Regions from separate parts of the Homo sapiens genome. Here regions 2, 3, 4, 5, 6 and 7 are each linked to region 1. The links are contacts of gene promoters, found by promoter capture Hi-C in blood cells and fetal thymus (Javierre and others, 2016). All regions are on one chromosome and are shown on one strand. Each heading gives the region's core, a stretch centred on a gene start or on the middle of the fragment in contact. The rest is flanking DNA. Distances are from core to core; before and after follow the strand shown. Region 1 holds the start of DORIP1 (dopamine receptor interacting protein 1). Region 2 holds the start of HECTD1 (HECT domain E3 ubiquitin protein ligase 1). Region 3 holds the start of NUBPL (NUBP iron-sulfur cluster assembly factor, mitochondrial). Region 4 holds the start of ACTR10 (actin related protein 10). Region 5 holds the start of ARHGAP5-AS1 (ARHGAP5 antisense RNA 1 (head to head)). Region 6 holds the start of FBXO34 (F-box protein 34). Region 7 holds the start of EAPP (E2F associated phosphoprotein).

Region 1 (3,880 bases), core at 467-2,966:
AAAAAAAAAAAAAAAAAAAAAAAAAAAAAAGGCAGAGTTGGGGGGCGGTAGGTAAGCAGAAACTTAAGTGTGATGGGCATACTCATTTGATCACAGTGATGGTTTAAGGGGTTATACATATGTCAAAACTGATAAAAATTATACACTTTAAGTATGCTCTATATATTCTATGCCAATTATACTTCAGTAAATATATCTAAAAAAACCCTACAACTCAGATGTCAGATTTTGAAGACGGTGGAAAAGATGCAGAATGGAAATTTCAGTTAAAGGCCTCAGTGATGTTTGTGAGTTATCCAAGTATTCAAGGAATCCATGCTTCCTCCATCTAGCTGAGACTCGGCAGAGTTTAATGAGCAATCTCAATACTATTCTCCAGAAATGGTGTCATCCACCATACTATGGCTGTTTTCAGGAAGAGAATGACCTAATCAGTATAAAATGAACTCCATGTCTTGTGAGAGATTTATAATTAAACACATAATCCACATTTACAAACATTTTTAAAGGGCTTTTCTACCTGTAGGAGAGGATTAATATTGAGAGTGAACTTTTTGCAAGTTTTCCAACACACTAGTTTATCTCTAAGAGCCTCAGTTTCCTCATCTATAAAATACCATAAGAAATAAGAAAAAACAGGAAACTAAAAAGAGCAGGCTTTGCCAGAGCTATTAATTATTCTTTTTTGGGCAGAGCCAAAACTCAAGAAATGGAAGTCTCTCTTCCATTTCTAGACTTTTTTAGAGAGATCCATGAGGAAGTTCCCCTCCATAGCTTTGGCCGACCATCACACCGGTCAAGAAGGCATCCAGCCTCTCCCAGGCTCAGCCTGTGACGGAAAACCACACTGATTTACTAGGATAGCCTTGAGCTCTCTCATTAGCCCTCACGTGTTCTGAACGTTAGAGCTAACTTTCCAGACCCTCATTATTTGTTGAAAGGCTGGATGGGGAAAATCTCAACCAGATCTCCATGCCTACTTGCAAGGAGAGGTAGTTTTTGCAGGGTGGCCTGTGTTCTCCAGATGCAGAGCCATACAGGGCCTTGCTTCTTTACGGGAGATACAAAAACTCGGCCCTAATAAACAGAAATAGTGGTTGAGCCCACAAACTAGCATTAAGTTGTCCTAACTGTAATTTCCAGCTCCGTCACTTGCTGTGTGGGACCTTATTATCTCCAAAACCCAATTTTTTCAACTTCACAATGGAATTAAAACAATCTAATTTTTCAAAATGGGGTTAACTTCCACTGTAAGTTACAGTATATTGGCCAATAATTAACTTGAACACTAAAGCTGGCATTTAACAGATCAATTCAACTGTTTTCTAAGTAAATACTTAAACGCTTAAAAAACCGTAATTTACTGAGAAAACAAAGCTTTCTTTCTAGGTTAAGAATTTGAGAAAACAAGACCCAGAAGCAAACTAAAATCAAGTCCTAAAATGGTACAAACCTCAAAAAGCCAATCAGGTTTGCCAATAAAGCTCCGCCTCCGTGCAAACTCTGCCCACTTCCGGCTTCCCCACCCACCTTCTACCAGTGGAACCCCGCCCCTCTCTGCGAGGTCCCGCCCCCCACACCTGATCCTGGTTCCCATTGGGCGAATCTGGATGCTGTATACACAGCCGACACACGCACATTAGGCTGGGGCGTCTTCGCGCCTGCGCAGCTGCGCTGTCAGGCGGCTGAAAACGGGGGGGTTGGGGGGAGGGGGGCGGAGGTCGTGCCGAATCTTCCTCCGTAATAAGAAGCGACGTGTCCCACTGTCCTGGCTCCGTGGGTCCAGTGAGATTGGGCCTGGGCGCTGGAGCTGCTGTGGCTCCCGCCGCGGCGGCTGCCATGGAGGCCATGCCAGAGCCCAGAACTCACGCCGGGGGAGGCCGAGACAGCCGGCGGTACTCATAGATGAGGCAGCGGCGGCGGCGGCGGCGGCGGCAGCCCGGGCTCTCCATGAGCAGGCGGCGGCGGCGACGGGTGCGGCGGCACCGGCAGTTTTCGGTCCCCAGGGAGGTACGAGGAGTTTGCTTCCTGGTGGACGGAGACTGGCCGGTGTGGGAACGCCTTCCGCGGCCCGGCCCTCCAGCCTATTTGTCCGCAGTTCTGAGCACTCGGCGGGGCACTGCCCGGGCAGAGGCGGGGGCGCCCAGCCGACTCGCGGGCCCCTAACTCGGGGACCCGCCCGCCTCGGTGCCAGGCCTCCCGGGCGCGGCTGCCCAGGGCCAGGGTGGGCGTGGCCGGAACGTGGGGGCTCCCCGGGGGCGCACGCCTAGCGTCCGCCTTGTCCCTGTCCCGAAGTCCCGCGCTGCTGGGAGCGGTAGCGCGTGGCTGTACAGGCGTATTTTAGGCGCTGATTTGAGAGGGGACTTTTAGAATCCCTGAGTCCTTAGGGAGTCTGGCGTTCAATGCCTTGGGCATGTGGTGGGGTCCTCACGGCTAGCTTGGGGTACCAATTTCCTCCCTTGGAAGTCACCACGAAAGAAAGATGTTTTGTCAAAGAAATAGAGGTCAGGAGAGTTTTCCAGGTTTATTCAAATTGGAGGGCCCGTAGAGCCTGGAGAATAAAGCCAGCGGAATACATCCTCCAGTCCTTCTAATTACAGTTCCTAGCTAAACAGCTAAGACAATTTTAAGTAAAGCTCTTCACAGCTATCTTTCCATCATTTTTCCCCACCCCTCATTTTTATTGCAATTTACTTTGGAACAAATCACCAAATTCATGATGAAACTAGTATCCTCTAGTTCTTCCAAACCTTCCCTCCTCCCGTTTTTTCCAGAGAAAGACTAAAGTTTCATGCCACATATGTCATTATAGTTTAATTCTCTTAGAGTGTAAGGGTAGTTACACTTCATTTGGTCATGTCTGAAGATAATGTGAAGAAAATATCCTAGAGATTTATGCTTCCTTCCCAATGCACTATTTTAGGAATCCGAACTCAGGCTCTTTAAGCAATCTTAAACCTTGCTACAAAGTTCTTTAAAATTCAACGGAAATAAATCAAACCATAAAGTTATTTTCGTTTTTAAAGTATTTGAATGCATAACTGTTTTTTAAAATCTTTGTAAACAAAACGAATCAGTATCTATTACGAAGAAACTGAGTTTGTGTTTTCCTAGGCTGCAGATTTGCCACACCCTCTTCTTCCTAAGTGGATGACTAGAATCAATGTGTTGGCCAACTAGATATAAACATCCACTCTTCATACTAAATATAGTTACTGGATATTTTAGAGTCCACAGTATCTTGCTTCAAACTGAAAACACTGTGTTCATGTGTGTTTAATATATTGCAGAAGTGAATTTTTACTCGCGTTGCAGAATGTTTTGGACTTAGTTTCTTACACAAATAAAACACGTAGGACTGCAGCTTTATTAAGTGTTGAGTTCATGTTGTGTTTGGGAGGATGCAGCACTTGGAAAAGATGGTCAAAATAAGACACTGATCTCAGTCACTCATTTCTCTGTTTCCACTCCTCAGATGCCTCCCTTTTTTCATAACAATACTTCTCCATAAAAGTAACCTCGGAAAACAATATGATGTTGTTAGTTTATTTGCTTGTCCCAAGTAAAGTGAAGGAGTTTTTTCAATACAATTGTAAAAAGAACTCATTCTTTCAAAAGTATGTGCGCTATATAACATACATATAACACAACATATTTATTAAAATACTTACTGTGGCTTTAAAAACAAAGTGCCTAGTGGTCCTCAAGGTTGGGGAAGAGTGCCAGTTTGAAAAGGGAGGATGCTTTGCTTCATTCTGAAAACATGCATAGGGAATAATCAGGATATTTATCAAGTTCTGAATCAGATCTTCATAGTATAGCCTCTGTAGTTAAAAATTATAGTATATCTAAATTGCACAATAGCACAATTCTCAGTTGC
Region 2 (3,880 bases), core at 567-3,066, about 14 Mb before region 1:
GGGAGAAAAGTCCTTTAAATTCCGGGACTGAACAGCTTGGGCTTAAATTTTTCTTCCTTTACATCTGCTAGAACCAAATTTTCATAGTGTCCTCCTAGCAATTAAAAAAGACTCCTAAGTACGTTTGGACGTAAGAGTGCTTAATGCAGTTTTTCAACTTTCCTTATCCGCCAGGTTTAACGTACAGATATCATACCAAATGAAAACCAGTTTTGCACAAGAGTATATAAGCTGATTAGGTTGCTGCTTAACTAGAAACCAGAGCTGTCTGTGTCAAAGACAGTCAGTCAAGCTTCAGGTCCCACTACTGCTATCACTAAAGTCTATGCCAAAAGGCAAAGAACACCTAACTAAAGGTTCTGTTTTTTCCAGCAAACTTCATCCCCCTCCTTCTCTACCCAAAACTGATCTTCAGATAAGGGTTAGATTCAGTATTTTGAGGAAACTCTAAACACCTTGATCCAATCCCCCTCCAAATTGTTTCTCCTTCAAAATTACCTCCAATTTCACATATTCTGCTGACTTCTCAATTTACTTCTATTTTAAAGATATCCAAATACAAACGACAATTATATACAAGATTTATCTATGAATAAAGAGTTGGTTAGGAATTTTGGCAGTCTTGGCAACTATTCTTAAAAGTTAAAAAAATAAAAAAATTAAAAAAGGAAAGGCTAAAAGTAAATGCAATGGACCAGCAGGTTACGGATCCGAACGAATGTAGGCCAACCTAGGGCCCTCTTTCCCCAGCTTCACAAGATAGGGCAGTTGGTTAAAAAAACAAAAACAAAACCGAGAAGCAACCCCAACAGGTAAGTCATTACAAAAGCGCCCCGTAAGCGCCCTGACTGGAGGACAGCTTTGGGTCCCACGTAACGCAGCCGCAAGTGTGGGAAGCCGGCGGCGGGGCGCGGTGGGCACCCAACGGCGGCGACCAGCGGGGTTGACCCCACACCCGGGGCCCGGCCGAGCCGGGCGCTGAGAGGCGCTGGCCCCCGCGCTGTGGTTCCCCAGCACCAAACCCCGCTAAGTTAACTACCTGTGTCTACGAGGAAGGGAAGTTCTGGAGAAGCAGCAGCAAGCCTTCGTGCCCGAGAGGAGGCCGCCGGGCCAGGCAGGGCGCCGGCTCTCCCGGGAGCTGCGCCCGGAACTCGAAGGCCTGGCAGCGAACCCTTCTCAAGGGCAAAAGGAGCCGGCCTGAGGCTCTGGCGCGGGCAACCGGGCCCCGCCGCCGGCAGGGCCCCGGGAGGGGAACAAAGGGGCCAGCGGGGAAGTCGGCAGCAGCCTGGCCGACCTCACTCGGCGCCGGGGTCTCGCTTTCCGCCACTCGCCGGGCGTCCGGGATCCGCGCCCCCACGCAGGGCCCTTCCGACGGTCCGAGGCGCTCCCGCCTCCCCTTCCCGCAGGCTCTTACTCGGGCTTGTCGTTCCAAACCGCTCCGATCCAGCTCCCAACAGGCCGCCGGCAGAGCCAGGCCCGGCCGCGGCCCTAGAGTTCCCAAGAAGCCGCAGGCCGCGCAGGTCGAACCGGGCAGGCGGCACAGGAAAAGCCGCGCCTCGTCCCTCCCCTTCCTCCGCGAGGACCTGGTGACAGGGAAGCGAGAGGTTCTCGCGTGCGGCAGCAGCCAGCGGACGTCCAGTCCCCAGCACGCGGCTCCTCAGGCCCTGCAACTCAGAGGCCCGCGCGGTGCTGCGGGCGACGGCGGCGGCGGCGCGGCGGGGAGGCCCAGTCCATCGCGAACCGGGAGGGGGAGGGGAGGAGGGTCGAGGGAGAGCCAGGCGGGGAAGCTGCCGAGGGCAGCCGAGCCCGGCGGAGGCGGAGCAAATCCACTCCCCCGGCGGCGACCCCGCCGGCGGCCACCTGGGGCGCTGCGGGACGGCCGACCGCCGCGCAGGGGCGCCAAACCGGGTACGCCGCGTCGCCGTCCCTGCCCCGGAGCTCTCGCCCCCGCCGCCTCGGGCTGTGTCGTACGTTTCTGCCGCGGCTTTTCTATGGTGCGCCCTGGCCCCCTTTTCGCTTCCCTGTCAGTCCGAGCGCGCTCATGCACGCACGTCCAGCTTGCTTGGCGCCGTGGCTAACACTTTGCGCGCTCCTGCGGAGGGCGTCGCACGGCACAGCACAGCAAAGCTGCGGCCCAACCTGTCCCCGCTGAGCCTTCCGCCCAGGCCACCCGCACTCAGCCACGATCTTCCCTCCTCGCGCACGGAAGTGCGTCGCGTAAGGAAGGCGTCTCCCCCCGCTCCTGGGAGGCCGACCGCCTGGCGGTTCACCCCAAAGAAAACCCTTCAGAGCAACCCTGGGAAAGAGGTGCTGCCGACGATTATCAACGTTGTACAGATGAGACACTGAGGCTCCAGGAAAGCGCAAATGCAGGCCCAGCGCCGTGCCCGGTCGGCAGCAGCACTGAGAGTGCACTTTTGACTACGTTTCTTGTGGCTTGTGGTCACAAGTATGTCTGTGGTTATTCTTTTCAAACTTTATTTCACACGCATTCAGAATAAAGGATGCATGCTTATAGGACGTAGTTGGAGCCCGGAGACGTCCTACTGTACTCTCACTTTCAGCTTTTAAACAAAAAGAAAAATTAATACGACATGATAGTGTTTGAGACATGGTCCCTCAGGCAACCAGAGGAGCTGCTAGGTATGAGTAAAGAACAGAATTTGGGTCCGCTGCGTTTCCTGTAATCCCAGCACTTTATGATTTTACTCTCTTGAGGCCCGGAGTTCGAGACCAGCCTGAGCAACATAGACCTGGTCTCTGCAAAAAAATTAAAATTTAAAAAATAATTACCCAGATGCGGTGACGCACACCTATGGTCCCAGCTACTGGAGCGGTTGAGATGGGATGATCCCTCGAGCCCAAGAAATTGAGGCTGCAGTGAGCTTTGATAATGCCACCTCACTCCAGCCTGGGCGACTAAGCAAATTTGTCATTTCCAAAATACTGGTTCTTTTTTTTCTTTCTTTTTTACTACTTCTTTAGAAAAAGAACCAGTATTTTGGAAATGACAAATTTGTACTTCAGATAGCTATCCGCGCATGTCCCGTTGTCGCAGGTAATGGTCCGTTTAGGTATCCTGTTAACGAAACAAGAGGAAAAAGAGGATTCAACTATTTTGTCCCAAGTACAACACATGAGGATAATTATTTAGATGTCATGAGTGTGAATTGGAGCTGCCAGGAAACTTCAAGAAGGAAGTGGCATTCCCTCTGGACCTTGAAGAATGGGTACAATGTAGACACTGAAAGGAAAGGGAAGAACATAAAGCCTGATATGTTCCTAGACATAGGAAAGGTCACCTGTGCCCCCAGCAAAGAACCAACAGTAAGCAACAGAGAGAGAAATTTGGAGCTAAAGTGGGGAAGGCCTTGAATGAGGAATGCAGAAATTAGGCTGAGCTAAGTAGCAAGTTCTGGACTACAACACTGGAAAAACTAGTCTTAAGAAGACTAATTATGGAAAGTGTCTAGAACGACTAAAAGGATCTATCTAGACGAGACTAGCTGGAGGTTGTCGAAATGCTGCAATAATGGAGGAAAGAAAAGTCTAGTTATTGGCAATATGAATGGGGAAGAAATCTAAAAATAATTTTTGAAAGAAGATATATCAGAATTTAAATGATTAACTTAAAAATTTCCGTCCAGGCTCCATGGCTCACACCCGTAATCCCAGCACTTTGGGAGGCAGAGGCAGGGGGATCACTTGAGCCCAGGAGTAGGAGACCAGCCTAGGCAACATAGGGAGACCCTGTCTCTACAAATAATTTTTAAAATTAGCTGGGTGTGGTGGTGCACACCTGTAGTCCCAGCTACTCAGGAGTCAAAGGCAGGAGGATCACCTGAGCCCTCGAGGTCGAAGCTGCAGTGAGCCATGATCA
Region 3 (3,880 bases), core at 1,381-3,880, about 13 Mb before region 1:
GGAGAATACCCTTTTGAAAAGAGGCCATGGATATGTATATGTGTGTCAGTGTTTTTTGGAGAAGAAACATCTCTACTACTCTCCTAAAATTTTAATTTGGGGAAAGGTAAACCAAAGTAATGATTCAGCCATTCTACAAACATTATTCTCACTTGCTCCTCCTCTTATGTTTTCTCTCAGGGAATTCATCTAGTTGCTCATGTCATAAACCTCTACACAACCAATGATTACCACAATAGCTAACAATTACTAACTCTGTGACAGCTGTTCTACATGCATTATCTTAAGTTCAACCTCACAACAACCATAGAAGTAGGAATTAACTATTTTATTGATAACAAAGTGAAATTTAGAGATGTTAAGTCAAGCCTTCAAGAGAGAGACCTCATGTCTCCTTGTCTCTGATCTTGCCCCGCTGATCCATTTCTTTTTTAACCCAGTAATCATAGTGGTATTTCTAAAACACAAATCTGATGTTACTTTCCTGCTTAAAATCCTTCTATAGTTCCCTTAGGATAAAGTCCAAATTTCTTTACAAGATATATACAGCCTTTCTTGATTTAGGCAACCTCCATCTAACCAACCTTCACTCCATCCTCATCTCTTTTAGTCACTTTGTCCTAAGTTGCACAGATCATTTACAGTTCTTAACAATCCAGAAAAGAAATGTATTTTCTACTCCTCTTGTGTTCTCTCTTCTTTTCTCTCTTCTTTCTTTTTTTATTTTTATTTTTGATATCTTTTTTATTTTTTTATTTTTATTTTTTAGTATTTATTGATCATTCTTGGGTATTTCTCGGAGCGGGGGATTTGGCAGGGTCATAGGACAATAGTGGAGGGAAGGTCAGCAGATAAACATGTGAACAAGGGTCTCTGGTTTTCCTAGGCAGAGGACCCTGCGGCCTTCCGCAGTGTTTGTGTCCCTGGGTACTTGAGATTAGGGAGTGGTGATGACTCTTAACGAGCATGCTGCCTTCAAGCATCTGTTTAACAAAGCACATCTTGCACCGCCCTTAATCCATTTAACCCTGAGTGGACACAGCACATGTTTCAGAGAGCACGGGGTTGGGGGTAAGGTTATAGATTAACAGCATCCCAAGGCAGAATAATTTTTCTTAGTACAGAACAAAATGGAGTCTCCTATGTCTACTTCTTTCTACACAGACACAGTAACAATCTGATCTCTCTTTCCTTTCCCCACATTTCCCCCTTTTCTATTCGACAAAACCGCCATCGTCATCATGGCCCGTTCTCAATGAGCTGTTGGGTACACCTCCTAGACAGGGTGGCGGCTGGGCAGAGGGGCCCCTCACTTCCCAGACGGGGTGGCCGGGCAGAGGTGACTCCACCTCCCGGACGGGGTGGCGGCCGGGCGGGGTCTGCCCCCCACCTCCCTCCGGGACGGGGCGGCTGACCGGATGGGGGCTGCCCCCCACGTCCCTCCCGGACGGGGCAGCTGGCCGGGCGGGGGCTTTTCTCTCTTCTTTCATCTTTCTTCCTTCTACTCTCTTCTTCTTTCTTCTTCCTTCTTCTTTCTTCTCCTTTTAATTTCCTCTTCCTCCTTCCTCCTTCCTTCTTTCTTCTTCTTCTGACAAGGTGTCACTCTGCTGCCCACGCTGGAGTGCAGTGGTGCAATCATAGCTCACTGCATCCTTGAACTCCTGGCTCAAGCAATCCTCTTGCTTTGGCCTCCCAAAGTGTTGGAATTACACGCGTGAGCCACCATGCCTAGCCTTAGCAGTCCATTTCTAACCTCTTTACAACAATCTCCTTGCCATTCTCCCAGCTAACTTCTACACATTATTCAGATTCAGCATTCAGCTTAGATATTACCTAATTTAGAAGCTTCCCCTGATTGAATTGAGTGCCCTTTCTTTGTATCACTTTGTCCTTTCTCCTGTATCCCTCAATGCTTTTCTCCTGTACTTATCATATTATACCGCAATTTTGTTGTTAACTTATTCTGTCTTTTGCACTGGATTATAAAGCCCTTTAGTGGAGGAATTATGTCGGTCTCAATGCTGAATATTTTAAGTCTACTGTAGTACTCGGTACATAGTAGTTGCTCAACGAATATTTGTTAAATAAATGAGTCTTAAGTCTGGAAGAACTTGCAAAGTTCTTTACCAGGTTGCTGGTAAAGCAACCTGACCTTTCTTTCAGGGAACTGTCAGCAACACAAGCCATGAATACCAACGCAAAACAGACTCTCACTGTAGATCACACGGGAAAAAATAAAATAAAAAGGTAAAATCCTTAACGGTGGTAGTATTTAAATGACCATATACTGCTTAGTAAGAAATCCTGGGGTCATTTTCAAGGTCCCCCATTTCCTACTTTTGTTAAGCTGGGTCAAGTCTCTTTAAACTTTCTCCGTTTTCTTGTCCATAAAAAGAGTATACTAGGTAAGTCTTCTGTCTACCTCGGGACTTCTGTAAGTATCATAAGAGATGTTTTATATGACAACACTTCACAAACGTTTAGTAAAACGCTGCAAAATGTTTGTAGCTGGCTATAAACAAGATCATGCAGATTGGGTTCCTGAGCCAACAAACCCAAAGAAGACCGGTTGCTAGGAAGAGAAAGCCGAGCGTTGCTCCGTGACGTCATCACTCCGCGCCACCCGCGACAGTTTCCCAGCAGGGCTCACAGCAGCGTTCCGCGTCATGGGGATTTGGCAGCGTCTGCTGCTTTTTGGTGGGGTGTCGCTCCGGGCTGGTGGCGGGGCCACTGCCCCGCTTGGGGGAAGCCGAGCGATGGTTTGTGGGCGCCAGGTCCGTGGTGCTGCAGGGCAGGGGGAAGCGGGCTGACAGATGCTGGGCTGCAGGGCCGCAGATGCCCTGGCATTGCTTCTTGCCAAAGACTCGCCTCAGTTCCTGAGACCCCCAGTGTGCTGGACGTGCCTACTTTTCAGGCAGGCCCAGGCTGAGGCGTGGCGGGACTTGAAACACAGTTAGAACGTAGATGTGGTATTCTACATTGCTTTCTTGGCTTTGGGTTATTTATCAAATAGATTGAAGAAAAGCAAAACACGTGGAAGCCTTATCTCCGTAAAGAGGCAGCGTTTTTACATTTTTAAACGTTCAGCGTATCCTGCTAGAAAAATTTCAATTTAAGCAATGTGTCTTTACAATTGTTATCAGTAGTAGTAGGTAAATGTCTCCATAGTGAAGATGAGCAGAATTAGAAAAGAAAGCCCTCTTAATTGCAAACCCCAGATTGTTTTTGCTTTTACAGTGTGATGATGGAGATGGCTTATTTAAAACGGCTTTTTATTATTATTATTTTTTAAAGTTGTCTGGCGCCGGGAGTGAGACCCTAAAACAAAGAAGAACACAAATCATGTCCCGAGGACTTCCAAAGCAGAAACCGATAGAAGGTGTTAAACAAGTTATAGTTGTGGCTTCTGGAAAGGGTGGAGTCGGAAAATCTACTACAGCAGGTATTATAGGATATTAATTCTATTCCTGATTAAGAACTTATGCCAACAGACAAGTGCACACTATTGAAATTATAGTTTTGTGTTTTAAAAATTTATTTGTGAAGTTCCTAACATGTGATTCCTTAGTTTCAGGAGTTGGTAGCGGGTAGACGCTTAGATTTTGGAGTTAGACAAAAGTAGGTACTAGCCGGGTCTCCCACCCCTTAACTCAGGAAAAAGTGGTCAGATTGTACAGCAAATCTTCAGTTCACTTAACTGTAAAATGGAGATAACTTCTTTCATAAGATGGTTATTCAAATTGCACAAGCTAACCACTTAGCTTAGTGTTTACTAGTGTTCAATAATTGGTTGCTGTTATTTTTAAAACATCTAGTAACTTTTTTTTTTTGTTTTTTTTTTTTTTTTTGAGACGGAATCTCGCTCTGTCACCCAGGCTGT
Region 4 (3,880 bases), core at 421-2,920, about 13 Mb after region 1:
TCTGCCGTGGGACATTGGGAAAGTTAATCTCTCTGAGCGTCGGTCCCCACAGATAAGAAAACACATATTCTTGTTATTTCTTGAGAAGATTAAATATTAGGCAAAACGCCTAGCACAGAATAGGGTCTCAGCATCTTCTGCCCCCCAAGAGCATGAATCAAAGGTTCGGAATTGCGTCGTCTCTCGGCTGCCCCTTGGCAGCCAGGTCCTCAGTGACCTCTTCACAGTGAGCTGAGACCGAACCTCTTCACAGCCGCGCGTGGGTGCGGCTTTGGGGCGTGGTGGGAGGGAAGGATAGGGAGGCCGGCTCCGCCCCCTCAGGGCGACCGGCGCGCCTGATCGCCGCGGCCTCCGCGCCCCCGCACTCGGATTCGCGCCCGCCAGCGCCTCTTTTCCCCTAGTCCTGGCGACGGCAGCACCTGCAAGGGTGGGTCCAACGCGGAATGAGGCACAGCCTGGGACAGCCCGGGCCCGGCGCGCCGCGGCCGCGCGAGGCCCCCGCCGTCGCCGACGCCCGAGCGCCGGAGCCCCGGCCCCGCCCCGCGAGCGCCGAGACTTGTTGGCCGCGGAGACTGCGACCCTCTTCTCTCAGTCTGCCTTACTACCATGCCGCTCTACGAGGGCCTGGGGAGCGGCGGGGAGAAGACGGCGGTCGTGATCGACCTGGGAGAGGCCTTTACCAAGTGAGTGGCCGTGACGCCAGCTGTGTTCGACCCGAGGGGAGGGCGGGTGGCAGAGCCCCAGGCACTGCCTGGGTCCTCATCGCCGACTCGCTGGGCAGCTCCGGGCCTCCCCTTTTCTTCAACCAGCGCCCTTGCAAATAACAGCTCTTATTATTTCCTCCCTGGGCGATGCGAATCCGAGGATCGGGGTCTGACTCCCAGAGAGGCCCAGAAAGCTTCTGTTGAATTGCCCTCGTCGCCGCCCCTTGTCATCACCCCAAACCCAACAAACCCTTTGGGATCATCTGTGTAGGGGATGACAACCGTGACCTAGACCCCGCTTACCCTGGGCTCCTCAGTTGAGGAAGGCAGCCAACCGAATGTAAATGCTCGATGACGAATTTCATCATAAAATATTGAACGGAGTTTATTTTGGTGCTGAAAATGGAAAGATGTTTAAGACAGGGCTATCGCTGCTCAAGAATTAGGGAGACTGGGCACATTAAGAGGTGAAACCCTATAGATAAGATTCTGGAAATCCTTTGTTGGCTCCCCTAAACTCGAAGGTTAGATTTGACATGTTTTAAACAAACCAACTTGTAAACAATAGAGAGGAGGTTCTCAACCTTTCGGATGGCATAGATCTCTTTAATGGCTGGATGAAAACCACAAATGCACAAATCTTAAGGTACTTATACACAGTTTCAGGGAATTGGCAGACAATCAATGTGGTCCTGGGACCCTAGATTAAGAGTCCTTGTGATGGGCTCAACAGAGAGGGAAGTAACAGGCAATTACATCATATATGTATTTATGAAAATGAAACATTTGAAAAATCTTTTTATATCTCTAGGCACTTCCTGACGTGTAGTAGGTATTTAATAACTATTTATTGACTAAGTGGTTAAAAGAGCCTATTTAAAAATTGGACCCCAGGAACTCCAGAATTGGATTAAACATAGTCCTTGGTTAATGACATTCTCTTATTGTTCTATGCGAGGCCCTTCCTTATTTATATTTTCTTATTAAAATTATTTTGAAAGCGTAATAAACAGTTCGAGGCTTCTAGTCAAAGATAATTATTTTGGCTGTACTTGGAAGAAATAAGCAAAAAGCTATATTTGAAAAAGACAGCAGGAGGATGATAAGATAAATGTATGAAGTAAAAAAAAGGAATTGAAGTCTAATGGCTTGCATTCTGAGATGTTTGAGGAGCACTGATGCAAGTAAACATGGAGACGGGAATAGGAGGAGATGGAGAGAATTATTTGGGAATACGAGGAGAGCAGTATCAAAAACTAGACAGGACAAGAAGACAGGATGTTAAGACTAAACTAGTATGATGATCATTTTTAGCAACGTTTTTAGCAAATTTTTGTTTTACTAACATGAAACAAAAATGGAAATACCTAAATACTCAAGAAAAGAGCATCGTTTTTAAAATAATGAAATATGTGGTTTTAAAAATAATACTGTAATTCCAGCAGTTTGGAAAGCTGAGGCGGGCTGACCACTTGAGCCCAGTAGTTCAAGACCAGCCTGGGCAACATGGGGAAACCCAGCTCTACACAAAATACAAAATTTAGCCGGCGGTAGTGTCGTGCCCGAAATCCTAGCACTTTGGGAGGCCAAGGGGGGAGGATCGCTTGAGCCTGGGAAGCGGAGGCTGCAGTGATCTGAGTTTGTGCCACTGCACTCCAGCCTGGGCGACAGAGCGAGACCCTGCCTCAAAAAAAAAAAAAAAAAAAGTGATAGCAATGAAGATTATGTTAATATGGGCAGAAGCTTACTGTATGAGTTAATTATGTATGAAGTGTGATTAAAACTATGTCAAATATATATGCATAATCATAAGAAGTAGACTGAAAGTGAATACACCAATATGGAAGCTAACAATATTAGAATGATGGAATTATGAGTGATACAGATGAATTATATGAATGAAGTCACATAATGTAGTACAGATTCAGAGTTGTAGATATGTCTTGCCTAAATTCTGCTAAAATTAACAACTAGGAAAAAAGTTGGCCAGGCGCGGTGGCCCACGCCTGTAATACCAGCACTTTGGGAGGCCGACGCGGGCGGGTCACGAGGTCAGGAGATCGAGACTATCCTGGCTAACACGGTGAAACCTCGTCTCTACTAAAAAAAAAAAAAAAAATTAGCCCTGCGTGGTGGCCGGCACCTGTAGTCCCAGCTACTCAGGAGCCTGAGGCAGGAGAATGGCGTGAACCCGGGAGGCGGAGCTTGCAGTGAGCCGAGATCGCGCCACTGCACTCCAGCCTGGGTGACAGAGCCAGACTCCATCTCAAAAAAAAAAAAGTAAATGCTGCCCTAAAATAATACATTTGTTTTTTTCAGCATCACGAATTTCATAGAATTTTTTTCTGTTAATACACAAGCATTAATAAATAGTATTATTAGTTTTGTGGAGTGATTTTTTTTGATCCCTTAAAATACATCAGGTATTTTCAAATGTTATTGTGGCCATTGTTTTGAAACAAATACAGAGAAAATTAGTTTCTGTGACAAATATTTAAAAGAATACTATAAGTTGTTTCAATTTTCCATTTATTTGCAGGTGTGGATTTGCTGGAGAAACTGGTCCAAGATGTATAATTCCTAGTGTGATAAAAAGAGCTGGGATGCCTAAGGTATTTAAAAAAAAATATTAGCAAAATAAATGCCATACTATAAAATGTTTTAAAATATGACTTCAAGTAAGATTGATTAAAACAGTACTAAAGGCCAGCCGTGGTGGCTCACGCCTGTAATCCCAACACTTTGGGTGGCTGAGGCGGGTGGATCACCTGAGATCAGGAGTTTGAGACCAGCCTGGACAACATGGTGAAACCCTGTCTCAACTAAAAATACAAAAATTAGCCGGGAGTGGTGGCAGGCACCTCTAATCCCAGCTCCTCAGGGGGCCGAGGCAGGAGAATTGCTTGAACCCGGGAGGCGGAGGTTGCAGTGAGCCAAAATCAAGCCATCGCACTCCAGCCTGGGGGGCAAGAGCAAGACTTCGTCTCAAAAAAAAAAAAAAAAAAAGAAACAAGAAACAGTACTAAATATATACTTTGTGGCTATATTTCCAAGGAAAAGTTTTTCTTTTTAAATCAACTTTATCAAGGTCTAATTTTGCACACCATAAGTATATCATGTTGTACAAGTACCACCACAATCCAGTTTTAGAATGTTTTCATCACCCCAGTAAAATC
Region 5 (3,880 bases), core at 865-3,364, about 13 Mb before region 1:
GATCTTTTTTTTTTTTTTAACGTCTTCTGGTGTCTTCATTATAAGAAAATAAATGAGATTTCAAGTCTTCCCTGCCTCCAGTATCATGTCCTATAACTGAACATTACACCTTTTTAACGTTTTCTTTAGAAGCCCTGATTTATTTGGCTTTGGTTTATGTTGATACATGTCCATGATTATTAAAATTTCTGATTATTTAGGACATAATTTTTAAGGTATCTTTAGGGTGTACACTCTATAGTACTTAACATCTTATTCAGGTTATGACTTTGAACTGCATCATTATAACACTAAAAAGCAACCTTGGCTAACTTCAGTACCTTACGTAACATAAGAAATAAAGAATAACTTGAACTTAAAATACTTTTTATATGTTTACTTCGGGTATTCTTAAGGGCTTTCAGTACAAAGATAAAAACATGCGTTGGAATGCATCAACATTCCAACTTACATAAGTGGTGTAGATACCTATGGCATTAGTACCACATTTTGATGGTTGGACCACCCACCAAATTCCCTTCTCTCCTTTTTTACTTCTTTTTCTTTCTGTTTGCTTTCCTTGCAAGTTTCCTTCCGCATCCTTCTTTCCCACCTACAATTTGTAACTGAAAGAAAGAAGTAGCTACAGACCTTACCTAACCTACTCTTAACCTACTTGGTAGGTAGGGTTCAGATGCAAGGGAGTGGCTCGAATAAAGCATTTTAGTTATGCCTTTTAGAAATTAGGGAGCAAGAGATATATAGAAAAATTAGAAATGTCTCTTCTACCTTTATTAAGTCTACCTTTGAGAAATATGAAGGGCAGGAAGACGGAAAAACGAACAGAACTTCTGCTGGAATATTGTGACAAATTTACTGACAAATATTTTCTAATAGATTTTTACCAACAGGCAGTTTTTGTTTTCTTTACTGACAGACCGTAAATGTACTTCTGGTTGGCAGCAGCTGCATCATTATAACACAAAAGCAACCTTGGCTAACTTCAGTACCTTATGTAACATAAGAAATAAAGAATAACTTGAATTTAAAATACTTTTTATATGTTTACTAACATTAAACTATTTTCAATGCAGGAAATAAATATTTCCCCAAAGAGGAATCCCCCCTCAATTACTTTCTTTCAGACTTAACAAATTGGAGTAGATGTGGTTTTGCTCATTCTTTTATCTGCTGGCAACTATTTTAAGTCTCCTGTGCAAGGCAGATTCCGATGACCTCGGGAAAGTCACAGGACCTCAGTTTCTTCAATGGTAAAAGCAAAGGCAGTGGTTTCTACCGTCCTTTCTCACTGCACCATTCAGCGTCAGTGCCCTCATGAGAAACACACCCAAAGCCCAGTGTGCTCTACCCCAAAACTTGTGAAATTTCTAGAGTCTCAAAAAAGTGAATATGTTTAAGGCAGTATAATAAAAGCCAGGTGGACGACAGTTCCTAAAGTTAGGCTGGTAGTGGCGTGAACAGGGGTCTTTTGGGCCACCCTGAGACCCGCCCCACGGGGCTTCTCGATCCACGTCTTGGCTTCTCGCTCCACTTTCACAGAACGTACTGAATCAGGGGCCTGCATCCCCGTGCCGTGCCGAGCCGACGGAGAAATGGACTCCTCTTCTCGCTCCTGTGGAGTTTCGTCTTCTGGGTGAGTGTGGCACCGGGTCCTGGGCGGGTGATGTCTGTAGTTGGCGAGCGATCCTCAGCCAGAAAACTGGCTGCGCACACAGGCGCAGACACGCGAACATGTTCCTGCGAACGAGCTTGGGCGCATGTTTTCCTCCCTTGCTTTCTTTAATGCTCAGAGACCATAAGGGGATTTATCGAGAAGCATTCGGTGCCCATGCCCGGTTTGGAACCGCGAGCACAATATCTGGTTCCTTTGCAGTACGGTGGTTTGCTCTTGAGTTACGACCAGAAACCGGAACAGAAGGAAAGGGAGAAGCAGGGGAGGTTCGGGGACGACGGCGCTCCGGGCAGTAAGGCAGTAGCTTCCAAAGCGTGGAGGATGGGACTGAGGAGGAGCAGAATACGGAGAAAGAGGGAAGCTGAGGAAAAATACTCACGCCAATGGGTAAAAGGGAAAAGGTGAGAAGGAATGGAGTAGGGGAGGGAACCAATGGTGGGAGAGGCGGAGGAAGAAGGGGGAGGGGTAGAAGCCAATGGGGGAGTGGAGGGGAGGGAGAAGCAGAGGGGAGGAGGGAGCGGGGACGCGAGCGAGGACGCGGCCCCGCGCGCTCGTCCCCCTCCCTCCGACTGGATAGCTCGCGCCTTCCCAGGCTCCCGGGAGACGAGGGCAGGGGCGGGGCCGTGCCGGGTGCGCGGCGCGGGAGGCGTCGCGAGGTGAAGGGGCGGGGACGGGGGATTGTGGGGAGGGCAGCGCGGGTTCGCGCGCGCGCGCGCGTCCCGTCCAGGCTGCGCCGCCGCGCCGCCGCTCCGCCCCCGGTCGGGTGTGTGGCTGCGCGCGCCGGGAGAGATGCTGAGGTAAAGTTCGGGAGAGAGGGAGAGAAATCCGTCAGCGCGAGGGAGCCCGAGTGGCCGCCATTACTGAGCCCGGCGCGGCGGCGGGCGCTGGGGAAGGGGGGAGGGACGGGCCGCCGCTGGTGGCGGGGAGGGAGGGAGGGAGGGTGGGTGAGCTGGCTGCGGGAGCCGTGGGGCTCAGGGTTTCGGGGCGTGTGTGTCGGGGAGGGCGGGGGGAGGTGGCTGAAGGGACGCGCCGCTCGGTGAGCGCGCCGAGGAAGAGAGGCGAGCGGAGAGTGGAGGAGGAGGCGGCGGCGGCGGGAGCGGTCCCCAGGAATGTCGCTGCCGCCGCCACCGCCGGGGCCGCTGCCGTTGAGGAGGAGACGGAGGAGACCGACGTTGTTAGGTAGGACCTTGCGGACCCCGCTCCTCCAAGCCTGCCTGCCCCCTCCCGGACGGGGACCCTCCTGCGGCTAGCTGCCCCGCTCGGTCGCCGCTGCCGGTTGTAACCAGTTGAAGGGGCTGGGGCCCCGCGGCCGCCGAGGGGAGCCTGGCGCTGCGCTCGGTTTTCGCAGGCCGGGCGGGCAGCAGCTGCAGCGTTAGGGATACGTTCGGCGTGAAGGGCAGAGAGGCCGGGGGAGGGGGTGCTTTCTCCACAGGTGACGGGGCCAGGGTCGGCGGAGGCCTGATGCTGGCCGGGGATCGCCGGCCCCGCCAGGCGTCCGCTCTCGCCCGCCGCCTCACTTGCTCGAGTCTCGGGTGGTCCGTCGAGAGGGGAGGTGGCGGTGTCCGTTGGCCGGGTTGCTGCTGTTAACGAGTTCCACCTGGAAAGGGTACACGGGGCGGGTGCAGATTCGCGGAAACACAGTCTCGGTTGCAAACTTAAACGCCTTGTAGGGGGGATCGGCCCTTTCACTTTCCCTCATCTCCTCGACTCCTCCCTGGGTTCTCTTCACCAATTTTCCATCTGCTTTGAAGCTTGGAGTAAGATATGAGAAGTTGCACTGCGCATCCAGAGCCCAGAGTCCTATGGGCTGACTGCGACTGGGTTGAGGCTTTGATACTGAGTTTTCGCTAGAATAACCTCCAGATTCTTCCTCTCTTTCCACTAAAGAAAAGTATCGGGGTGGGGGTGGGGAGCCGCGCGGGAGCGCGCGCGCACTTATCCACACAGAAATACTCCCTCTCACCCTCCCTCTTCAGCGTTATTAGAAATGCAAGAGAGCTGGAGGCTCGGGGTGTAGCTGAGGTTGAAAGGTGCACGGAAGTAAGGGCAAACTGTTATTAGGCCGTTTAGTAAAATCCCGAAAAAGTTGTAGGGGAGACGCTTATACTTCTACCATGTGATAGAAATTCGGATTTGGCCATCGCTTAATAAATGGGAATTCAAATATTTTGAGATAGAGCAAGATAGGCATATAGATGGGTTTGTGCT
Region 6 (3,880 bases), core at 567-3,066, about 10 Mb after region 1:
TCTTGTCGCCCAGTTAGGAGTGCAGTGGTGTGGTCTCAGCTCACTGCAAACTCCACCTCCCAGGTTCAAGCGATTCTCCTGCTTCAGCCTCCCAAGTTGCTGGGACTACAGGCGTGCCCTGCCACACCGGGCTAATTTTTGTATTTTTAGTAGAGATAGGGTTTCACCATGTTGGCAAGGCTGGTCTTGATCTCCTGACCTCAAATGATCTGCATGCCTTGGCCTCCCAAAGTGCTTGGATTACAGGCGTGAGCCACCATGCCCAGAAGGAATCAAGAGGTTTTAAGAAGGACAGTGTTTGAGATGAATCTGAAAGGATAAACTGAAGTTTTACAATTTTGAGCTAACTATGACATAAAGAAGCTTCAAATGATCATGATATATTGAGCTAATATTGCTCACATATTAAATCAGACATACAGTTTGATGCCACGGTGTACCATATAACACCCTTCCTTAATTTTTTTTTTCCTTTTTGAGATGTGAGCCACCGTGCCTGGACTTCCCCTCTCCAATTTTTATTAAAAATATGTATATAGATAAAGGTCTAGATGGAGATACTGAGTGGTTATTTCTTGGTGATGAGATTATGGGAAATATTTTTATTTTGTTTTTACGTTTTAATATTTAAGATTTTACACATATATTTTACAACAGTAGTTTTATAATTGGACAAAATTATTTTTGTTAAGGACTGGCTAAAATCAAAGTTGCTGGTTTAAGTGTAACTTGGTACAACCTTTTAAAAATCATTTGGCAGTTTGTATTAGTAACTGTGAAAGTGTTGATAGTCTTTTTCACCTAGTAATTTCACTTTTGGGTATCTTTAAAAATCTACATTCATGAAGATGTTCTATGATTTCTTTATAATGGCAAAAAGTGAATGAAGGAAACAAGTTATGTCCAAAAATAGAGAATTACTGCAGTAAATTTTATGTCCACTTAATGTAATTTTATGCAGCTGTTAAACTGGTTATGAAGCTTATGTGGAAATATGAGGAATGCTTATAAAAGTGAAAAGAGGATGCAAAATCGCGTACAACTACTATTACAGTGTAGTAAAATATATGTGATGGGGCAAAAGGTCTAGAAGAAAATACATTGTCCTCATGTTTTTCAATGTGGTTAATATTATTTTCACAATGAAAACAATAATAAGCTTAAAGATTGGGAATCAAAAGTTCCTCACTGGCCCTCTGATTTGAATATAAAGTGTTAAAAATTTATATCCATCATTAACCAGCCCTTAAGCTTCTACAGACTTTAACAGTTTCGTGTCAGCCTCAACGTTTATCTACTTTCTGACCGGTATCCCTGCCATGATTTTCATAGGAAAGAGAGTCAGAAGGGACCTTTCCAATTTTGTCATTTTACAAATTGAAACTCTGAACCCCAGCCTTCCAAGCTAGCAGCAGAACCAGTATGAGGATCCAGGTCTACTAGGTTATCTAATAGTATCTGAGACCATTTACAGCTTCAGGTCCACCCACGAATATTCATAAACTTGACATGTCTGCTGATTGAACCCTGGCGTCACTACCCTTCTTGGCTGGCCTGGGAGGTTTGATTCCTTTCCCTACAGTCGTGCTCAAACTTTCATTCTCTACCACTTGGGGGCCGCAGACGCGTCATCCAGGTCTCCCTTTTCACTTCCCCCTTCCCGCCCCCAGTGTCCGGCAGGGGGCGCCGTGAAACTCTGGATCCGTGGCCCCTCCCCCGGCCAACCGTCGATTGGGCCGGCGCGTGACGTCACTCCGTTTTAGCCAAACAAATGGGTTTCGGGGCGAGCGTTGGGCGCCGCCGCGCCGCGCTGGGTGCTCGGTCCGACTCAGCGGTGGGGAGTGAGCCAGGCCTCCCGCCACCGCTGCTGCCGCCACCACTGCGTCGGGCTGGTGCAGCCCCGGGCCAGGCCGCGGCCGGGGCAGGAGCGCAGGTGGGTCCGGGCCGAGGTGGGGCGTGGCGCGAGGGCCGCGCGACTGGGGTCCGGCGGCGGCCACCGTGGCCGCTCCCCGCCCCCTACCGCCGCCTGCCTGCGCTCCCGGGGCGCGGGGCGGGTGGGGGTGGGGGCGGGGGCGCCGCCCGCGGGTCCGGGGTAGGGACCCGGCCGCCTGCGCCTCCTCCGGTGCGGCTCTTTCCGCGCGCACGGCCCGGGCGCTGAGCGTCCCCGCGGGCCACGGAGGGTCGGGCGGGTAGGGAGCGGGGTCCTGGGTCCCCGCTGAAGCCGAGGAGATTCACGGATAGGCCGTGAGCTTGCACCGGACCGGCGCTCCCACTTACGGGACCCAGGGCGGTGAGGAAGTCAGCCTCTGGACTGGGGTCGCCTCGCCCCTGTCGCGCCCTCCCGGGCTCGGCCACTCTGCCCTTCCCTGCCCCAGCGCAGGTGAGCTGGCGCTTGTCCTTAACCTTCTTCAACGACGAGGCGGGACGGAGGCTCGGACGCCTCCCCAGCCTCTGGGCTGGCGCAAGTCGACTGCGGTTCGTCCTCAGTCCACGATGAAGTCATAGGGCTGTGGGTCCGTGTGTCTGTGACGTCAGAAGATGGGTCCTGGGATGTCACTGCAGGCCCGGGCGGGGACCTGGGCTCACGGAAGGGCCGGGGGGACCCGCAGGGTAGAAAAAGGAAGTTGTCTTCCACGAACGCTTGGAATCGCAGTGGATTTGAATCGAAAGTTGTTCGGTATCAGCATTTTGCAATTTTAATGTAATAGTTGTCAATTTCTTTAACTTCTTGTCCAGCAAGCGTTGCGAGTACAGCTCAGTATAAGACATTTGATTTAGAAAAACTTAAGTCAGGGTAGGAGGTTTTTTGGAGGGTGTAATGTAAAAAGCCTTTTAGGAAGCTAAATTCGTAGTTTGATAGTTTGCAATCAGAATTACTGAAAAAAAAGAGAACCACTTCTAGTGTTGATAAATCAGTTTGCTTTTTTTTTTTTTTTTTAACTGGACATCTATCTGCTTGTTAGCATTTTTTGTTAGAAAATGGCCAGGAGGAGGGAGAGTGGATCTTACATGATTTTTTTTTTCTGTTGTAAAGGGAGGGAGGAGTTTGAATTAATCCAACATTTGTCTTAAATAATAATTACCTGAGGAGTTAATTTATCCAGGTTGTCCCTATCCCACCCTATGGTACCATGCTACCACCCCATGCTACCATGGTTTAGAAGTCAGCAACAAGCTGTTTTCTTGCTTTCTTACTGAGACCCGGCTATAACTTAATATAAAAACATATTCCAGGACCGCTTGTCTGGATAGGTAACTAAAATTTTGTCTGTAGTGCTTTTAAATATGAAATTAGAGAATAAAAAAATGATTTGTCTGTGAATACTGTTTTTCTTCCAAAGCTTTCAGAAGAGATCTAACTGGAAGAGAAGCTAGTCACTTTGTCATAGTGACCCTCTTCGGGTATTCCAGCATATCAGTACTTTTCATTTCCTCCTCTGTAGAATAATGTAAATGGAATCTAGTTCAAAAGGTAGATGGCTTAAACTTGAAGCATAGTTAGTCTTTAGCAGGAAGCTTGGGTAGAAGTCCTTAATCCTTCCTCACTGACCTTGACTTGTAATGGTACGGTTTTTTTTTTTTCCTCTCTCTCAATACTTCCTGCTCCCCATTTGCCTTTTAGAGGTGATTGATAAGATACTGTCTCTCTGGGTTTTACATCAACATGCAGATGGAAGTTATGCCCATTTTCAGGCAGGAAATAAAAGCAAAAATTTACCCGTTAGGTACTATTGGATTTGACTGGAAGTTCACAAAACAAGGCTTTCCTGTACATGTTATTTTGATCCTCACCACAACCTTGGGAATTTGACAGCATTGTGTGCGCTACTGAAAGTTGTTCTGGTTTTTTCTTCCTTCTTTTAAGAAATGAGGAATTTTA
Region 7 (3,880 bases), core at 593-3,092, about 10 Mb before region 1:
GAAACAGTTAACAGGCTACAATGTATTAGTTTATAAACAGTGTAAAATTAAATACTGACAGACACCTCTCTAACACTAATCTCCCTTTTTAAAATAATAACCATTTGGCTCAGAGCCTACAACAGGCAATACTGTCTGATAACATTGTTTTGTTTTTATAATATTTATCTTTACAGTTACCTTACCAGTGGCAACTGTCACAGAATTATAAAGCTTCCTTAAAAAAATGATACAACAGTCCTGGCTCCGTGGCTCAGGCCTGTAATCCTAGCACTTTGGGAGCCCGACGCAGGCAGATTGCCTAAGGTCAGGAGTTCAAGACCAGCCTGGCCAACGTGGTGAAAACCCATCTCTACGAAAAATACAAAAAATAAGCCAGGTGTGGTAGCGCATGCCTGTAATCCCAGCTACCCAGGAGGCTGAGGCAGGAGAATTGCTGGAACCCAGGAGGTGGAGGCTACAGTGAGCCAAGATTGCACCAGTGCACTCCAGCCTGGCTGACAGAGTGAGACTCTGTCTCAAAATAAATAAATAAATAAATAAATAATTGAGACATACATATATACATACCTCCTTTCACAGACAGGACCCATTAACTGAAACTCTTTTTCACAGGGAATCCTGGTATCTATCCTCACTCCCAACAAAAGAAATCTTAACAGCAGTCTGATTTCCCATGCATCCAATGTCTCCCCATGACAATATGAGGAAACATTGTTCTTTTGATTTTTTTTTTTTTTAAGAAATGAGGTCTCACTATGTTGCCCAGGCTGTTCCTTTACTACCAGGCTTAAGAGATTCTCTCGCCTCAGACTCCCAAAGTCCTGGGATTACAGGCATGGGCCACCACACCCAGCCAAAGTTGTTAATGAAAGCATGGCTTTACAGAAAGCTTCTTTAGGCAGAATGAATGTTTTAAAGTTTAAGAATAGGATCTGCTGACAGCTTAAGAAATAACTAAATTTGTGTGGAAATATCTCGGCAAAACAGCTTCAAGTTTCCCTGGTAGAATAAAGCCCACCCTTCTGGAAATCCCACGAACCTTCTTCTGTGCCTATCTCAGGTCAATATTCTCTACAATGCTCTGCCAAGAAATATATACTTTATCTTATTACCCTTATTATACTATAAGCCTCTGGAAGACAAGGACCTTATGATTTATCTCTGTAGCTCAGAGCGAGCATACAACAGTCCCTGTCAAAAAATAAAAATAAAAAAGGCTGTTCAATATTCCCTTATTTCTGTTTATGGCAGTTTAGTCTTCAAGATGGACACTTCACATTAAGTCCTGTGAGCCTCACAACAAACATAGTGTGTTATACTATGTTATATAGGTTATACAATTATGTTATTATAGTTCAATTTTACAGGTGAGTAATCGAGGATAACTGACTTGCCTTCCGTCACTCTGCTACTAAGGTGTAGAGACAGGTTTCGATCTCATTGCTTTTGAAGATTTACACGCGGTCCCCCGTGATTCCGGAATATCCCTCTTCCTACAGGCGACATCGGCACCGCCTCCCCCCGGGACTGCGCGACCCCATCAGGAAAGCCCTTTGGCTTCGCACAAGTAACAGGCACGACAGGCTCCCGAGCCGCTAGGGTCTGCGTAGGCTCGGCAGGCGCAACGAATGGAGGCGACCAAAGCCAGGCCTCGACCCAAATCCTCGGGGGCCAGGGTGGGGCGGGAGCCCACCTGCTCAAAGCCGGCTCCTCGTCGCTAGGCTCTTCAACCGCGTAGGGGTCGTAGTCATCCGGAAGCCGGTTCATGGTGGCCTGCAGCGGCCTACACCGTCCACAAGCAATTTGCAGCGTCTCTGTTTACACTGCAAGTCCAGTCCCTAAAGCGCCCCTGACGCCACTTCCGCCTGAACGTCCCAGTCCCCCTTGCGCGCCCGCGCAGACCGACAGCACCGAGGGAGGCAGGTAGAAGGCGGGGAAGGGGCGGAGCAGGAGCGAAAAGGGGCGGGGACGGGACGGGGGCGGGTCTTAATCCCACCATTTTTGTTTTGTTTTGTTTTTTGGAGACGGAGTTTCGCTCTTGTTGCCCAGGCTGGAGTGCAATGGCGCGATCTCGGCTCACCGCAACCTCCGCCTCCCAGGTTCAAGCAATTCTCCTACCGCAGCCTCCCGAGTAGCTGGGATTACAGGCATACACCACCACGCCCGGCTAATTTTGTATTTTTAGTAGAGACGGGGGTTTCTCCATGTTGAGGCTGGTCTCGAACTCCGGACCTCAGGTGATCCGCCCACCTCGACCTTCCAAAATGCTGGGATTACAGGCGTGAGCCACCGCTCCCGGCCAATCCCACCATTTTCTTCCGCAGCTTCTGCTTACAGGAAAATAGCAGCTACCTTGTCACCAAAAATAATAATGATGGGCACCCTCATAAGTGACAGTCTCTGAGGTGAACATGCTACATGCAGCGTCTCATCACCTACGAAGCAGGAATCTAGACGCTGAGGGACACACAGCCCGAAATCCAATAAGTCCTCAGACACCAGCACCCACATCCCTCCAACCTCGCCTCTAACCCTTATGCCTTCCACACCATGAGGCTCTCAACCTCTCCTTCACACTGTTCACTCCTCAGTCTGACTGCGGCCTCAACAATCTACGAAAAGTTATCTTTTCTCGTCATCTTCCCAGTCCCCACTTTTGCTCAGCCCTCAACTGATCCCACTCGATACCTGAGGAGAACAGGCAGATGACAGCCACTTGAGCTCCATCGGGAGACTGTTTCTAACCCTGTTTCTGAACCAGGAACTCGGGTTCCTGCCTCCTACCGAGACACTGTGGCACTCTCTAAAATGTGGAGTAGCTGTAATAAATCTACTCCTGTATTATGCTTTACAGTGCAGGTCTTAGTTTTTCTTTTTTCTCATTTCTTTTGAAATGGCATCTCGAACAAAGTCCACCAATCCCTTTACAAAAGAATGAACTGCTCCTCTGTGTGTACTTCATAGAAGGTGGAATCGGACAGAAGCAGGTTAGTGACAGTTATTCCTGAAATACAGGAGCAGAGTACAGTCTGTTGTGGTTTCCCGGATTCCGCGCCTAGCTCAGCCAATTAAGCATGAGACATAGGCCATTGAGCCACTTAGTAGTTATGCGAGTGGATAGATTGGTATGTAGAGGGAAAGAGGTCTGCTGTAAAGAACAACACTTGTTTGTCTGTGGGGAAAGAAAAGCAGAATACTTGAGATGAAAGTTGGCATACAAATAGGATACTATCGCCAGTAGTTATATTACAAACATTATCGGCCTTTCTAGTGTGAATGAACATTAGACACATTATTGTCATTCCTAGTTTAAAGTTAAGGTTGCGTGGTTGGATTTTTCCACTATCTTTTTCTAATTTTTCTACCATTTGGAGACCGTAGGCATTTGGGCCTGTCACCCCTTGGATGGGTTCCTAGTTTGTTTACATTTTCCTGAACCCTCCTGAGCGCCCGTTCTTGGTCTAATCCCCAGTCGTGATGATTCCACACTTCCTCAGCCGCATGTTGTCTTGCCTCATTCATGAGCTGGTCAGCGTTTCGTCTCTTTAACTGACATGTTCCCCAGTGCTGTTTGAACTGTTGAGTTTCCGTTGCTGGCTGAGTGCGTTTTGTCCTTCACGTAACCTTCGCTGGTAAAAATAAGCCCATGTGATGTCCACCAGTGGATGAATGCTGGACCGAGAGCCCTAGCTTCTGGATCCAGGTCTAGGCCCTTCATCTGCTGCTCTGTGGCCCAGGGCAGGTTTGCTTGACCTCTGCCTCAGTTCTCGACTCTAAAGGACATACTGACCTACCTCACAGGGGTGTTGTGAGGATTAATAAATGTTGGTACTCTGCTTTGGAAATGTGAAAATGCTGTGTAAATGTTAAGAAATAC

The links. The method cuts DNA at HindIII sites, captures the fragments that hold promoters and counts their contacts. A CHiCAGO score of 5 or more calls a contact.
Region 2: the fragment with the promoter of HECTD1 here is called in contact with the fragment with the promoter of DORIP1 in region 1 in 2 of 17 cell types (non-activated CD4 T cells and total CD4 T cells); the score reaches 8.8 in non-activated CD4 T cells.
Region 3: a contact is called between the fragment with the promoter of NUBPL here and the fragment with the promoter of DORIP1 in region 1, in 2 of 17 cell types (total CD4 T cells and non-activated CD4 T cells). The highest score is 19.3, in total CD4 T cells.
Region 4: a fragment that was not itself captured here is called in contact with the fragment with the promoter of DORIP1 in region 1 in 1 of 17 cell types (total B cells); the score reaches 6.8 in total B cells.
Region 5: the fragment with the promoter of ARHGAP5-AS1 here is called in contact with the fragment with the promoter of DORIP1 in region 1 in 2 of 17 cell types (total CD4 T cells and total CD8 T cells); the score reaches 6.3 in total CD4 T cells.
Region 6: the fragment with the promoter of FBXO34 here is called in contact with the fragment with the promoter of DORIP1 in region 1 in 1 of 17 cell types (total B cells); the score reaches 8.2 in total B cells.
Region 7: a contact is called between the fragment with the promoter of EAPP here and the fragment with the promoter of DORIP1 in region 1, in 2 of 17 cell types (total B cells and total CD4 T cells). The highest score is 8.2, in total B cells.

Annotation. Positions count from the first base shown.
Region 1 is chr14:44,895,559-44,899,438 of GRCh38, forward strand. DORIP1 (dopamine receptor interacting protein 1) reads left to right here and starts at 1,717. Exons shown (of 5, transcript NM_001017923.2): 1 at 1,717-2,010. LOC101927418 (a long non-coding RNA gene) reads right to left here. Exons shown (of 3, transcript NR_110050.1): 2 at 3,672-3,755; 3 at 3,350-3,518. RefSeq lists enhancers at 1,362-1,411, 2,036-2,535 and silencers at 1,902-2,031, 2,052-2,371. The HindIII fragment of the contact is 3,873 bases long and covers 1,376-3,880 here.
Region 2 is chr14:31,205,977-31,209,856 of GRCh38, forward strand. HECTD1 (HECT domain E3 ubiquitin protein ligase 1) reads right to left here and starts at 1,817. Exons shown (of 43, transcript NM_015382.4): 1 at 1,040-1,817. RefSeq lists enhancers at 709-1,222, 1,735-2,246, 2,224-2,393, 2,247-2,758 and silencers at 864-1,073, 1,194-1,403, 1,704-2,043. The HindIII fragment of the contact is 4,913 bases long and covers 291-3,880 here.
Region 3 is chr14:31,558,774-31,562,653 of GRCh38, forward strand. NUBPL (NUBP iron-sulfur cluster assembly factor, mitochondrial) reads left to right here and starts at 2,631. Exons shown (of 11, transcript NM_025152.3): 1 at 2,631-2,774; 2 at 3,295-3,442. The coding sequence starts at 2,667. NUBPL-DT (NUBPL divergent transcript) reads right to left here and starts at 2,558. Exons shown (of 3, transcript XR_943720.2): 1 at 2,338-2,558. RefSeq lists enhancers at 2,474-2,873, 2,800-3,355. The HindIII fragment of the contact is 6,263 bases long and covers 1,844-3,880 here.
Region 4 is chr14:58,199,612-58,203,491 of GRCh38, forward strand. ACTR10 (actin related protein 10) reads left to right here and starts at 538. Exons shown (of 13, transcript NM_018477.3): 1 at 538-683; 2 at 3,244-3,316. The coding sequence starts at 607. RefSeq lists enhancers at 1-110, 731-920 and a silencer at 181-570. The HindIII fragment of the contact is 1,549 bases long and covers 897-2,445 here.
Region 5 is chr14:32,074,585-32,078,464 of GRCh38, forward strand. ARHGAP5-AS1 (ARHGAP5 antisense RNA 1 (head to head)) reads right to left here and starts at 2,115. Exons shown (of 1, transcript NR_027263.1): 1 at 835-2,115. ARHGAP5 (Rho GTPase activating protein 5) reads left to right here and starts at 2,720. Exons shown (of 7, transcript NM_001030055.2): 1 at 2,720-2,851. RefSeq lists silencers at 2,141-2,400, 2,761-2,980, 2,779-3,073. The HindIII fragment of the contact is 3,747 bases long and covers 1-3,421 here.
Region 6 is chr14:55,269,605-55,273,484 of GRCh38, forward strand. FBXO34 (F-box protein 34) reads left to right here and starts at 1,817. Exons shown (of 2, transcript NM_017943.4): 1 at 1,817-1,933. It overlaps FBXO34-AS1 (FBXO34 antisense RNA 1), which reads right to left and starts at 2,474. Exons shown (of 2, transcript NR_184222.1): 1 at 2,278-2,474. RefSeq lists a silencer at 1,869-2,368. The HindIII fragment of the contact is 2,090 bases long and covers 1,250-3,339 here.
Region 7 is chr14:34,537,859-34,541,738 of GRCh38, forward strand. EAPP (E2F associated phosphoprotein) reads right to left here and starts at 1,843. Exons shown (of 6, transcript NM_018453.4): 1 at 1,697-1,843. The coding sequence starts at 1,770. It overlaps LOC105370447 (a long non-coding RNA gene), which reads left to right and starts at 1,891. Exons shown (of 2, transcript XR_943739.1): 1 at 1,891-1,926; 2 at 2,328-3,848. LOC112268123 (a long non-coding RNA gene) reads right to left here. Exons shown (of 2, transcript XR_002957583.1): 2 at 3,376-3,880. RefSeq lists enhancers at 1,046-1,970, 1,621-1,780 and a silencer at 1,921-2,020. The HindIII fragment of the contact is 15,759 bases long and covers 891-3,880 here.